Linked DNA regions of Homo sapiens: regions 2 and 3 are each linked to region 1. The links are contacts of gene promoters, found by promoter capture Hi-C in blood cells and fetal thymus (Javierre and others, 2016). All regions are on one chromosome and are shown on one strand. Each heading gives the region's core, a stretch centred on a gene start or on the middle of the fragment in contact. The rest is flanking DNA. Distances are from core to core; before and after follow the strand shown.

Evidence for each region. Contacts are between HindIII fragments. The CHiCAGO score rates a contact against its expected background, and 5 or more counts as called.
Region 2: a contact is called between a fragment that was not itself captured here and the fragment with the promoter of KCNK10 in region 1, in 1 of 17 cell types (neutrophils). The highest score is 5.9, in neutrophils.
Region 3: a contact is called between a fragment that was not itself captured here and the fragment with the promoter of KCNK10 in region 1, in 1 of 17 cell types (monocytes). The highest score is 5.4, in monocytes.

The regions. Positions count from the first base shown.
Region 1 is chr14:88,320,709-88,325,234 of GRCh38, reverse strand. KCNK10 (potassium two pore domain channel subfamily K member 10) reads left to right here and starts at 1,966. Exons shown (of 7, transcript NM_138317.3): 1 at 1,966-2,488. The coding sequence starts at 2,437. RefSeq lists enhancers at 1,329-1,388, 1,961-2,620 and a silencer at 1,439-1,678. The HindIII fragment of the contact is 7,039 bases long and covers 1-2,377 here.
Region 2 is chr14:87,934,630-87,939,155 of GRCh38, reverse strand. It overlaps GALC (galactosylceramidase), which reads left to right. Exons shown (of 17, transcript NM_000153.4): 17 at 4,278-4,526. The coding sequence ends at 4,424. Among named protein-coding and RNA genes, the nearest start is that of GALC, 56 kb to the left of the region's middle. The HindIII fragment of the contact is 5,069 bases long and covers 742-4,526 here.
Region 3 is chr14:88,017,678-88,022,203 of GRCh38, reverse strand. LINC01147 (long intergenic non-protein coding RNA 1147) reads left to right here. Exons shown (of 3, transcript NR_110121.1): 3 at 3,501-3,599. Among named protein-coding and RNA genes, the nearest start is that of HISLA, 4.6 kb to the left of the region's middle. The HindIII fragment of the contact is 3,528 bases long and covers 827-4,354 here.

The DNA.
Region 1 (4,526 bases), core at 717-3,216:
GAGCGCAGAGGGAGGTTCGAAAGCCTTTCTTAGAAGCATCTCCCTCTGGACTTGAGAACAGAATTTACATACACACTGGTGTCTCGGGGCATGGCTGGGAGAAGCAGAGATTCCTTGTTTGTTTGATTTCTATGTCTTAGCCATCCTCCCAGTCCTAGTAGAGAGAGGCAAAGTGTGGTTACAGAGTCCAGGGAAGATGGTTCTGAAGCACCCGGGAACCTGCCTAAAGGGCTGAAGAGTCAGAGTAGCACCATCAGATTGGTACCAGTTTTGCCTGAACGGGGTTTGCAGAGAATTCAGGGCTCCAGCCTGGGGTGCCTGTGACAGCCCAGTGACAAAGCACTCACCTTTCCCACAGACCACAGCGGACCTCTGTAGGTCTTGCTCTTGGACTCAGAAACCTTGATGTGATAGTGACGGATGGATGGTGAGAAAGATGCTGCTGACATAGGGCTCCCCAGAAGCCTCAAGGTGCCGTAGAGTAGCATGCAACTTAGAGATCAGCTGCTAGTGTGGGATTTTAGGACCCCAGCTGGCAGGCATAGGAATGAGCTGGGCAATTTCTATGCGTAAGTAAAGGCAACAACAATCTAACAGGACCTTATGGCACTAGATAGTAAGCCCCATGAAGGCAAGATCTCTGTCTTGTTCTCTGCCATATGGCCAGCACATAGCACAGTGATGGCACTTGGAAGGGGTTCAATATATATGTTGAATGAACAACAAATTTTAGTAACCTTATCTGGAAGCCAGAGTAGGGGTTTAAACTACTTCCTATCCAACACTGCAGCATGCAATTCATGTCTTCATTTAGCAAGTATTTCTTGAGCACCTACTACGTGTAAGGCTCCGTTGCGAGGCATCCGAAGCAATTTGTCAGCATCATTCATGTTGATACTCGGAGTGACCCGTTCAAGAGCACCTCAGCACCACCTGGCTTTTCTGAAGACTGAGGCCCCACCACAAACCCCTGTGGGGCTTCAAGCAGGGGCAGTGAGAGGGCGTTAGACGAATGCTCCAGGTTTAGCCCCTTTCCGGGAACAGGTCTGGGTCCCTTCGCATCTGCCCTGCTGGTCCCAGGATCCCGGGGCCGCCGCTTCCGGGAGCTGCCGGGTCTTGGCAACTCCGCTTTCCTCCGGGGGCCCCCGTGCCTCTCTCAAGCCTCCTTTCCAGCCAACGACCAGCGGCCCCAGTCCGGCTGCAGGTAGCTGGGGAAGGGACCAAGCTGTGCCTTGGGAGCGAGCTTCCCCGGGCGGGGAGAGCGCAGCAGATGCGGAGCGGTCCCAGAACAAAAGGCTCATGGCTGGCACGGGCCTCCTTGGAGTGCGGCGGGGACGTGGGTTCGGGACTCAGGCGAGAGAGCCAGACGCGGGAGGAAAAAAAATGAAGTGAGAAAAGAGAAGGAGGGAGAGCTCAGGGTGAGAGCGGTGAGAAGAGGTGACCCGGAGGCCGAGGTCTGCGGCGGAGCCGCAGCGGCCCTTCCTCCGCCTCCTGCAGCGCCTTCCAGGCAACCAAGCGTGTCTCCGGCTGCAACTCCAGCAAGCGCGCCGCTGCCGCCTCCACGCCCGCCCGCCGGCCGGCCGAGCCAGTAAGTAGCGGCGCGCCCACCGCTCGTTCCCCGCCCCTCCGCGGCTTCCCCGCCACCGCCCACCGCCTCCCGCCGCCCCGCGGGCAAGTCCGCGACCGCCTCCCGCTGCCCCGAGCCGGGTGCCGGGGGCTCAGCGCGCCTTCCCAGCTGGGAGCCTCGGTCCGCTGCTCGCCCTGCTCCCTCTTGCCGGGGCGCGGCGTCTGGGGCGCGCCGCGGGGAGGGTCGCCCTCGCCGCGCGCTGCCCGGGCGCCGCGCCACCCCTACATCCAATGGCTTTCGGGGAGCGGGAAGTGGGGGGCGTCGCCGGGGGCGAGGAGCCGCGGCCGGGGTGGGGCGTGTGCGCTCAGCGCGGCCGAGCGAGGCTGACGTGCCCGCCCAAGCGCGCGCCCGGGAGTGTGTGTGCGGGTGTGTGTGTGCGGGAGTGTGTGCGCACACGCCTTCGGGGGCTGGAGTGACACTGCAGTGGGCTTCTCCGTAGCCCCAGCCTTCAGGCTGCGCAGCCCCTAACCTGCCGGCACCGCTTTTGGGAAGCAGCTTGGCTCTTCCATCTCCCCAAGCCTTCCTCTCCATCCTTTCATCCACCCCTCGCCGATCTTACTTTTTCTTTTACCCACGGGGCCGCGGCCGGCCACCCCCTGGCCGGTGCAAACACCCAAGCCCTCTCCAGTTCTCCCCCAAGCTAATATTTTCCCACCTGTCTTTTTCTGGGGTTCCTCCACGAGCCAGTCCAAGGCTCCCCCATCCTCGGAAATTGTTTTGTTGGACTGCTAAACCGAGGCGTGTAAAGCTTGAGGACTTTATTATTATTTGGGTTCTTTTCATTTCTTCCCCTTCTGGGCAACGAAGCAATGAAATTTCCAATCGAGACGCCAAGAAAACAGGTGAACTGGGATCCTAAAGGTGGGTGTTTCCTACTTTTGGCTGCCCTCGCCCTGCCTCTGTCTCCGGCGTGTGCGCGCTTCCTTGAGTGGAAGCACTCTTGCTTCTGGCAGCGTGTGTCCTGAGGCTGGGAAATGCGCCTGGGAACTGCAGCGCGGGTGGGAGGAGGGCGGAGGCAGCGTGGGTTCCGAACCCAGATAGTGCCTGTCATTACCACATAATCATTGTCCCTCCTAGATTGTCTCCAGATCTATTTAGATAGACCAAGCCGACTGTTTGGTTTGAAATTGCAAGTGTCGGTATTTGCTTTTGACTTTGAGTGTGCGAGTGTGTGTGTGTGTGTGTGTGTGTGTGTGTGTCCTTTGTTTCTGGTGATCTTTGTCTCTCTGGCAGATGGGTGGGGTGCTTCCCCCTGGACCTGGAGCTGCGCCGCATGCCCGGGTGTCCTCAGTGGGAAAGGTTTCCTGGCAGCAAGTGGGGCTCGAGTTGCAGCAGCCGTCCCTAGGGGTGGGCCGTTCTCGCAGGGCATGCAGAATAATGGAGCCCACAGGGCCTCCTGAGTCTTCGTTCAATCTTATTACCAAACCTAGCAGCTAGTTAGGCTCAGGTCAGAGTAGAAGCAGGAGGAGGGGTGGTTTGTGAGAAGGGTGGGGCTGGCAAGGCATAGGGGAGGGGCACGAAGTGTGCCCGCCCAAGCAATGGTGTGGTTTGCATGCTTTTACGAATGTTGGACCAGGTTTCATCCACGCAAAAGGGAGGGATTAAGACGGATTTGTGTGTGCCTAGCGTCGGCCACCGTGTCTGTAATTAGCATACAGATGTTAAGGCTCCAAGGGAGTGATCAGTATGAGAGCAGAACAAGTTGGAACCGCGTGTCCAGTTGTGACAAGAATGCTCTTTAGCATTTCTTGTAGCTCATCTGACGACTGTGTCAGGCTAGGCAACGCCTCTGTGTGTATTGGAATTGAAATTTGTTTATTTGGGGTGCGTGTGTGTTTAATGTTCTTTATGAGCGCATTTCTTCTTTTTCTCCAGACTGGAAAGAAGAAACCATCTTATTTGTTGAGTAAATGTCTTAGGAATTGACTGGCTATTGAAGAGTGAGTGAAGAGATACTGCCTTTTTAAAACACTGAGGCTGTTACATCTTAAATACAGCCCAAACCTTCTATTTTGTCTCTACTTGAAATCTCTGGAAATATGGAGGTGTGCCTTTGCTTTTTTGGGGGGAGAATCCCTGAAAAGCATATTTGTTAAATACCTATTACATGCTAAACACTGTCCTAAGCTCTGGAGATACAGTCAGAACAGGAAAGATAAAAGCTCTGACTTGGAGTTTACAGTGAGGGAGACAGACCTAAATCAATTCCATGGAGGAATGCATAATTCAAAGTTTATGTATGCTCCAGGGAGAGCATCAGAGGTTTAAGAAAGTGTCTGATAGAAGAGATTGACAAGGACCAGAGAAGGCTTCCCTGAGGACATGACACTTGGACTTAGGCCTGGAGGATGTATAGGAGTTAATTGTCTAAGGAGGAGGGGAATTGTTGCAGAAGAGGGAACAGCAAGTGCAAAGGGCCTGAGGCAGAAGAGGTATGTGTATATGATGAACTGAAAGGAGGTTCCCATGGCTATGGCAGAGTGAGTGAAGAGGTATTGCCTTTTTTAAACACCCAGGCTGTTATACTGTAAATACAGCACAAACCTTTCATTTTGTCTCTATTTGAAACCTCTGGAAATACGGAAGTATGCCTTGGCTTTCTTTTGGGAAATCCCTGAAAAATGTATTTATCCCTAGCAGAGAGCAAGAGGGCTTGTGTTTTGAGATATGACTGGGGGATCCACAGGCGAGACGCCCCCCTCCAAGCCCTGTGTTGTTGGAGGTGGGGTAGCATTGTGGGGTTGGAAGAGTATAGTATTTATCTAAAGCCAATGAAGAGTTTCAAGACGAGGAGTGACATGATTTGAGCTAAGTTTCAAAACAAGTGCTGTGTGGCTCTTGTGGATGTAGGGGACCAGATACAATGGTAGCATGGGCCAGGGTGGTTGCTGTGGGCATG
Region 2 (4,526 bases), core at 2,027-4,526, 390 kb after region 1:
ATACCACACTAGCCAAATTGTAGCCATTTTATAGCAATTATAATAATATTCACTATTATTGAATTTGAAGATTTTTTCCAAACTCATAGATATGATTTGTATTTCCTTGATAATTAGGGAGCTTGCACATCTAATGTTTACTGGCTATTTGTATTTTCTCTTCTCTGAAGTTGCCTGTTCACTTCTTTCTTCATTTTTCTATCATGTTGTCTTTTTCTGGCAAATTTGTGTGAATTTAATATGTATTCTGGATAGTAACCCATTGTCTGTTACATACGTCACAACTATGCTCTTCCTTCATGTGTATTCTAATTTTGCTTATGGTATTTTTGATGATTATAAGTTTTACATTTTGATACTGTCAAATATTTCACTTTTTATTCATTGCTTTTATGTTTCATGTTTTAAATAAGGCCTTCTTGTTTCTCAAGGTTAGGAACATTTTTCCCCCAAGCTAAACAAAGTTTAGGATTTATTTTTATGTGTAAGTCTTTAATACGTCAGAAATTTACTTGTGAATTGTAAGGGGAAGTACTGAATATAATTTTTTAAAAAATGGATAGCCATCATTTATTACAATGGACTATCCTTTTGCCCATAATTTAAAGGCTACCTTTTTGATGTAACAAATCAGCACATGTGCACATGCTTGTTTCTGAACTTTTTTCTGTTCTCCATATTGATGTTTGTCTATTATTATCCAAAATCACGCTTTTAATTGGTGTTCACATTCTAAAAGCTTTGATGATACAGCTACTCCCTTGCTTCCTTCAGAGTTTTCTTACCTGACCACCTGATAGAAAACAGCGCCCCATCTCACTCTCTAACTCCTTTCTGTTGCTTTATTTTTCTCCAAAAGTTTTATCCCAAGCTGACATCACACATATTCTGTTAATTGTTCATGTGTTTTCCTACTCCCTTCACTAGCACATAGCTCCTTTAGTGACAGGCTTTTCTCCATATTCCTCACTGCTGGCTCTGTAGCACCTAGAAAAGTGCCTGACAGCCAGGCAGAGCAAGAGTCCGAATAATACTTGGTAAATGAATGAATGGATATCTGGTGGGGCAACTTCCTCATTGTTTCTTTTTCAAAATTATCTTTGCTATTCCACTATATATATTATTCGATTTGACTTTTAAAAAACAAACTTTCAGTTACTTGAAAAATGGTGCTGGTATTACATTAAATTTACACATCAATTTAGGAAAAAATGACTTTTTTTTTTTTAACAATAATGTGTTTCCCCATGAGAGAACACAGGAACAAAAGCATGCTATATTTCACCATTTATTAAGATTTGCCACTATGTCCTTCAGTTTTATTTTTGCAAACTTTTGATTAGGTTTGTTTTAGTAATTTTATGAGTTTTTTTGAAATCATGAATGAGATTTTAAAAATTTTCTTAATTTTTTTCAGGTACTTTGCATACCTGGTTAAAATATCAATAGGATGTGAGGCATCTTGCCTCACATCCTGTTCCTTCTTCTTGACCCCATTCTGTGTCTTGTACTTCTGATACAGCCACTCTTCACTATTTTAGCTGTTTCTTCTGGTGTGTCTTTAATACAATGTGATTCATTACTTTTAAAAATTGGCTCTTGTCTTGCTACTAGGATGGATAGGACTTTGCTGGCTTGCACCCACCTCACTCCCCTACTCCTGTTATTTTGTGTTTCATCAACTATGGGCATTCTGTTTCCTCTTGAATCTCAGCTTTTGCCACATACTCTGAGGGTCTTCTGTAACTATCTGCACTAAAGTAGTCTGTCAGGCACCCATTGTCACCTTGACCTGGCTTAATTTTTACATGCTACTTATCTTTTAGCTCTCATTTTGTGTGTGTGTGCATATCTGTCCATCTCCTACTAGAATATAAGCTCCATAAGAGCAGGGACCTTGTCTTTCTTGTTCATCTTAAATTCCCAGTGCATTAAACAGTATTTGACATATAAATCTTCTTTGCGTAAATAAAAAAAACAAAACATCATCTTCTATGTTGCCCATATTCCAAATTACAGCTAATGTGAGGATTTTGTCACTGACTATCAGCCACCTGTTGAATTCTTCTCAGCACTTGTCAGGTGACTTGTCCCAGTTCTGTTGCATGGTGGGTAGCACAATGGACTTTGAAGTCTACTATATTCTACTTGCAAGTATTTTATATTGCACAGCTTCAATTTTCCCATCCATGATATCATGAAGAACACTTTTCTTATGAAGATTCAATGAGAAAATAAATAAATATATATATATATATAGTACCTGATATGTGGTAAGCACTTAATGAGTCAAGTTAATATTTTTAGGAGTAGGAGTGTTTGGAACCAGACAGACCAGCATTCGTATTTCCTCACTAACACATGCTGAGACTTCTAGCAAGTTATTCCACCTCTTTGAGTATCCATTTCCTTATCTGCAAAATGGAGATAACTTCTGTGAGGTTGTTTTGAGGGTTAAATGTGTTTCATTCTTATATTCAACACATTTTTATTAAGCCCCTACTGTATGCACTTTACTAAGTCCTAGGGATACAGCAGCGAACGAAACAGACAAGATTCCTGCTCTCTTAGAGCATATATTCTTCTAGGACAGGGGTTGGCAACTTTTTCTGTAAAGGGCCAGATAGTAAATATTTTAGACTTCGTGGGCCATGTGGTCTCTGCTGTGGCTACCCAGTTCGGCTATTGTAATGAGTAAAAAAGCCATAGACAATAGACAATAATGAGAAAAAAAGCCATAGACAATGGATGTGGCTGTGTTTCAGTAAGATTTTATTTATTAAAAAAAGGGCGGTTGGCATGTAGGTCATAGTTTGCTGAGCCCTATCCTGAGATAATAAACTTGTAAATAAGTTTATAAATGATTATGAAGAAAAAATAGAGTCATGAGATAAAGTAGCTCTGTTACCCTGATTCTCTAACCAGGGAGGTGAGGAAAGACCTCACTGAGTGGGTAGTACTTGAGTGCAGACCTGAATGCTGGGAAGAACAATTTGAGCAGACCAAGTGGCAGGTGCAAAAGGCAGGTGTAGCTGACATTGTGTGAAGAGCAGCCTGGAGGCTGGGGTGGCTGAAGTCTGGGGAGTCAGGAGAGATAAGGTCCTGTTAGACAGGTTTTGTGCTTAATGTGATCTGTGATTTGAGTCCCTTGGCTCGGTGTTAATATTGAGTGTTTGATGGCAGCAGAAGATGTTCAGTAAGCACTTCTAGAGCTGAAGATAGCTGTGCAAGTCTGTAGTAATAGGAATGTGGCTCTGAATTTGGAGCTAGGTAACTTGGAGTGAAAACCTGTGACTTTGAGCTTTAATCTATTAAGCCTCAGTGTTTCCACGCATAAAATAAAAGAACTAAATTAAGGCCCATTACGTTATACTTCCAAGACTTAAAAGCAGATTTATTCTGGTTCTTGGCCCAGTGCTTTGAGTTTTGAGCTCTTCACCTTCTGAGAGTAGCTAGTTTTATATGATTGACTGTAGTTAGTATGCTGTGAATATGTGCTCATAAATGTACTATCATAAAGATAATAAGAGCTGAGATTTATTGTTTACCATGTGCCAGGCACTGAGCTAAGTAGAATGGCAACATTCGGAGGAAGGTGTAATTTTTTCTTTCACTGTCAGTGACCAGTAAGTCACACCTTATAGATGCCTCCCTTCTTCCACCCGCTGCACCCTACTCCAGCATCACTTTAACTGATGGTTACTGTTTTTCCAACTTAAGGGTAGGAGCTTCATATGGCTTTGAAGTGATATTCTATTCATGGCAACAAAACACAAAAACTAAGGTTAATTATTTTTCTTCTGGCTGGGCAGAGGCTCCTTAATGAAAACCTTAAGGAAGCAATGAGGTAGAAGCAGATGTTTTGACTCCAGCAGTCATGTCTGAAGAGCTGGTGGCTGTTAGCCACACCACTTGTACATGTGACTACTTATAAATAACTTTTGTTAAATTTTAATGAGCTTTTTTCTAAAACTTTATAATAATGCCTGAAAAGTTTTGCATTTTGTTGGTTTTAAATTTTGGTGGAGCACAGGAAATATTGAGGTATTCCTTGTACTTTGGGAACGATTTAAGTAGGTAGATAAGAATTTCTTCCTAGAGTTTTTTCCTGTATTTTAAACTTTTGCTCAAACTTGTGGAATTGTGTTTTGCTGTGGTTAAGTCTTGAGTGAGTAGTACATTTGCTCCACTAAGTAGTGGGCCATACATGATCAAGAAACAGACTTCAGAGGACCATTTTCATATGGTTTCAAGGAATGTGTTTCTTTCTACTCTAGGGTCATTTCACCTCTGGCATGCTGAATGACAAGTCTCTGTGGACAGACATCCCTGTGAATTTTCCAAAGAATGGCTGGGCTGCAATTGGAACTCACTCCTTTGAATTTGCACAGTTTGACAACTTTCTTGTGGAAGCCACACGCTAATACTTAACAGGGCATCATAGAATACTCTGGATTTTCTTCCCTTCTTTTTGGTTTTGGTTCAGAGCCAATTCTTGTTTCATTGGAACAGTATATGAGGCTTTT
Region 3 (4,526 bases), core at 1,341-3,840, 300 kb after region 1:
CCTTGAAAGGGACTCAAAAAACCCTTCCAAGCCCTCCAAGTTTCCACCAAGTAATATCTTCCTTCATGCACTGTGGCTTTTTGATACTTTCCTCTGGCATCCATTTGATGAAAATTATTTTCATCAAAGGATGCCAGAAAAACAAATGAGTTTTAAAGTAAAGATGAAGGAAAATTTTGAAAAGTACTTAATTTCCTCATTATTCATCCATTCATTGTTCCACTATCCAATGACCAAGGCACTGTTTCTGGGCTGTTCACAGTAGCTCTATTTTCTGCTATTGTTTTTTATTTGATGAAAATTTAGCTTAAACAAACTAGGCTTATGTAAAATCAATGTAATAGCACAATCCTGCATAATTTGCCAAGCATTTGATGAGTTGAAAGGTGACATATTTGCACACTACATTTAGATGTGGGAAAGAAACTATCATCATTGCGCCCTGAAAACCTCATTCCCACCATTGGTGGGGAAATAAAAACCCTAAATTTGTGCATAGAAGATATTTCCATGTCTGCTGGCTTAAATAGTCTTTTAAAGACTTGTTTATGTCTTCTGGATAAAGACTCAATCAAGTTTAAGTTCCATGCCCCTCTTAGTACTGTTTCTCGTCTTGGAGAGCCACTCACTAGAAGGCACTTTCCACAAGAGGTGCCTCTCACAAGATGTAGTCTTCCATAAGATGGCAACTGGATGGAGAGGAAAGCTTACCTGTCCTCTTTGCTGTGAGGATGTCAACCTGCTGCTCCTCATACTGTCTTCTGGTCCCCTCTGGCCTTTGAGATGATGTCCTGTCTGTCCATTAGGCATCCCCCTGGCAGAAGCTTCTGAGACCACAGTCAGTATAATTGGTGATCTGGTGGTCTGCTGGGGGTCTACTGTGTCCCCTCCAGTTATACTCCCTTGTCTTGGTTCTTGCTAGAGCAGCAGCTCCCCATGGTCTCAGCTGCCTCCTCCATCCACCCTGGGCCTTGGTTCTCCACCCAGCAGCCTCTGCCATGGGGTCAAGTTTCCCTCCCACTGGGATCCATGGGAGGCCCACTGGCCCTCATCTCTCTTCCATACTCTTCTTCCTCTGGGAGCAAGTGACAATGTTTGGATTCCTTCCCTATCCCACAGCAGAGGACCTATTCCCAGTTATCTTTTCTTCTTAAGTATCACCACCATGGTATACCACCATGTCGATTTTTCTGTTCTGTTGCAATTTTACTAATGCAGGGGTGCCCTAAAAGGTGATCTCCTCCCTGAACCCCAAACAAGGCATGAGTCCCCTCTGCCGCTCTGCTTCTGGGTTTCCTTGCTGATCTCTCTTAATATGAATCCGGAAATATGTCCTATCTCTTGCTCTCGCTTTCTGTACCTCATGGATTCTTCGTAGAATCAGAAGGTATATCTACTTCATCTTTTTGTTGTTAAAAGAAAAACTTTAGCCAAATTAAATTTAACAGAGTTTAATTGAGCAAAGAACAATTTGCAAATTGAGCAGCCTCCTGAGCCACAGTAGGCTCAGGGACTCCAGTGCAGACACATGGTGGAAGATTTATAGATAGAAGAAAGAAAGTGACATACAGAAACTAGTGTGAGGTACAGAAACAACCAGATGGGTTGCTACTTGATGTTTGCATCATTTGAACACAGTTTGAACAGTTGGTCACCTTTGATTGTCCAAGACTCAGTGATGACACAAGAGTAGACTACAGTCTGAGTGCAACTCCATTTAGGTTATAGTTCATGATGTACACAGAAACCTTTAGGCTGAACTTAAAATACACAAGGAGGCAGCTTTAAGCTAAACTTGATTTAACACTGTCCAGTAGGGCATCACCAAGTAATATCTTCCTTCATGCATTGTGGCATTTTGATACTTTCCTCCTTTTTCCTGGGCAATAAACTGGGCTTTAATGATGGAAAGCCTTTGGGAGAACAATCACTTATATGGGAATGGAAAATGTAACAATTTAATGTCTTCTAAATAGGATTCCTGTTACATCTAGAATATGTAAAACTCTGCTAGTTTCTAGGAAGGGAGCTGAGGATAGGCTCAGAGGGAATTAAGACGTGAATTAAACATGATTTCTGTTCTTAAATAGCTTTCAACTTGGAGGAAGAGATGGATATGAACACCATTGGCCAAGGCATGGCATAAGAACCAAATGTGGCCTGCACCACTGGGTGATGAGATCAGACAGGGGTGAAAGATCACATAGATCCCTTAAAAAGCTGGCTGCTTTCAGTTTGCTTCTTCTCAATTCTGCAGGTTAGAGACCACAGCCAGAAACCTGATTAGCTGCAGTCTTTGAGCCTAGACCTTAGCTTGAGAATTTCTGTCTCAGCAAACATCAGGTTGGGCCTGAACTTGGGGGTGGGAGGGATCCATCTCTTCACTGGGTGGGACTGTACCTTTTTTTCTGGTAGATGGCAATTAATAGGAGGTACTTAGGAAAGGGCTGCACTCTATTTGAGAGCAGTAGTTCTCAAAGTGTGTCCCACTCACATCAGTGTTATCAGGGAACTTGTCAAAAACACAAATTCTCAGGCCCCACCCTAGGCCTGCTGAATCAGAATCTCTGGGGATGAGGGATTGAGCAAAGAACAATTTGCAAATTGAGCAGACTCCTGAGCCAGAGTAGGCTCAGGGACTCCAGCACAGCCAAATGGTGGAAGATTTATAGATAGAAGAAAGAAAGTGACATACAGAAAATGGTGTGAGGTACAGAAACAACCAGATGGGTTGCTACTTGATGTTTGCATCATTTGAACACAGTTTGAAGAGTTGGTCACCTTTGATTGGCCAAGACTCAGTGATGACACAAGAGTAGACTACAGTCTGAGCGCTCTGTCTTAACAAGCTCTCCAGGTGATTCTCATCCATACTAAAGTTTGAGAACCTCTTCTCTAGACTCTAAAATTATGTAACTCCACACCCACACCCAGGGCCCAGCAGCACTGGCATTACCTGAGAATTTCTTAGAAATGTAGAATCTCAGGCCCCACTTCAGATGTATTGAATAAGAATCTTTTAAACTAAGATTCCTAGTTAATTCTTATAAACATTAAAGTTTGAGAACCATTGCACTAGGTGATTGGACCTATATTCAACCTGGATTCTAGATCATAGGTGGATAGTATCATTTTTTAAATTATTATTATATTTTAAGTTCTGGGGTACATGTGCAGAACGTGCAGGTTTGTTACAGAGGTATACATGTGCCATGGTGGTTTGCTGCACCATCAAACCGTCATCTACATTAGGTATTTCTCCTAATGCTATCCCTCCACTAGCCCTCCAACCCCCGACAGGCCCCGGTATGTAATGTTCCCCTCCCTGTGTCCATGTGTTCTCATTGTTCAACTCCCACTTATGGGTGAGAACATGTGGTGTTTGGTTTTCTGTTCTTGTGTTAGTTTGCTGAGAATGATGGTTTCCAGCTTCATCTATGTCCCTGCAAAGGACATGAACTCATCCTTTCTTAAAAGTTATGTTTTCTTCTCTTTTCCAGGGAGGCCACCTCCTGTCAAAGCTGGGACATCTGAGAGACAGTGGTCACACAACAACTCAACTGCATGTGCACCTAAAACAGTAGCTTATTTTCTCTGACTGTTTCTTCTTCTTCTTCTTCTACTCCTTATTCTTATTCTTCTTTCTGATTTACCAACCTACTGGGTATCAGTGCAAAAAATTATTTTACTTGCGAATTAATGATATCACCACGTTTTCTTGCTTAAACTGTCTTTTTAGGTTAGCTCAGCTACTCTGGGCTAAACATTCAGTCTTTCAGATATACTCCACTTACCTTAGCTCCTCCCATGGTGGTTCCGGGGTTGGAGAGGCTTACGTGACCTTATGGTAGCAGGGCAGAGGCAGGGCTATGCTGCTCATGGGGCATTCTGTAAAAGTAAGATGTGTCTTCCTTATGATACCTTCCTTCCAGTTGTTGGAAAGTTGTCGTGCTGCTTTTATTAGAGCAAGCATCTTGTTGCCATATGCTTTAAAATGGACATAATAAATGTGCAAATCTTCAATGTCTGTTAAATGAATGGTGCCCTCTTAGACATGGATTTCTTGTGCAACACTCAACCTGCACAACTGTATGCCAGTCTCTATTTTTGTACCACAGTAAAGTGCATGCATAAGGCTGAATATGGGGTTTTCCCCAGAGGCTTGCAGCTATCTTCAGGAAAAGCAGACTATTGGCATTGACCATCCTGGCAACTCTGGAAATTCTATTGATCTCAGGCCATGAGGATCAACATTTGTCTCCGACATCCTCATTTTAACTCTTCTTTGCCTCCTCCCCTTAGACCACTGCGGTCAGGAGCCCAGGCTTTTTCATTTCCCTGAATAATAGAAGCTTCGTTTACATCATGATTGGTTCTCACTACCCCCTGGCATAGAGAAAACTCCAATTTTAAGTCAGCCAGGCCTACTTCTTGATATGAGATGGGAGCCTAAGAGGTTTAAAAAGTTCTTTTATTTCCCCATAGTGTCTGGCTTTTGAGACTCCACTCACTAGTGACTCACAAAC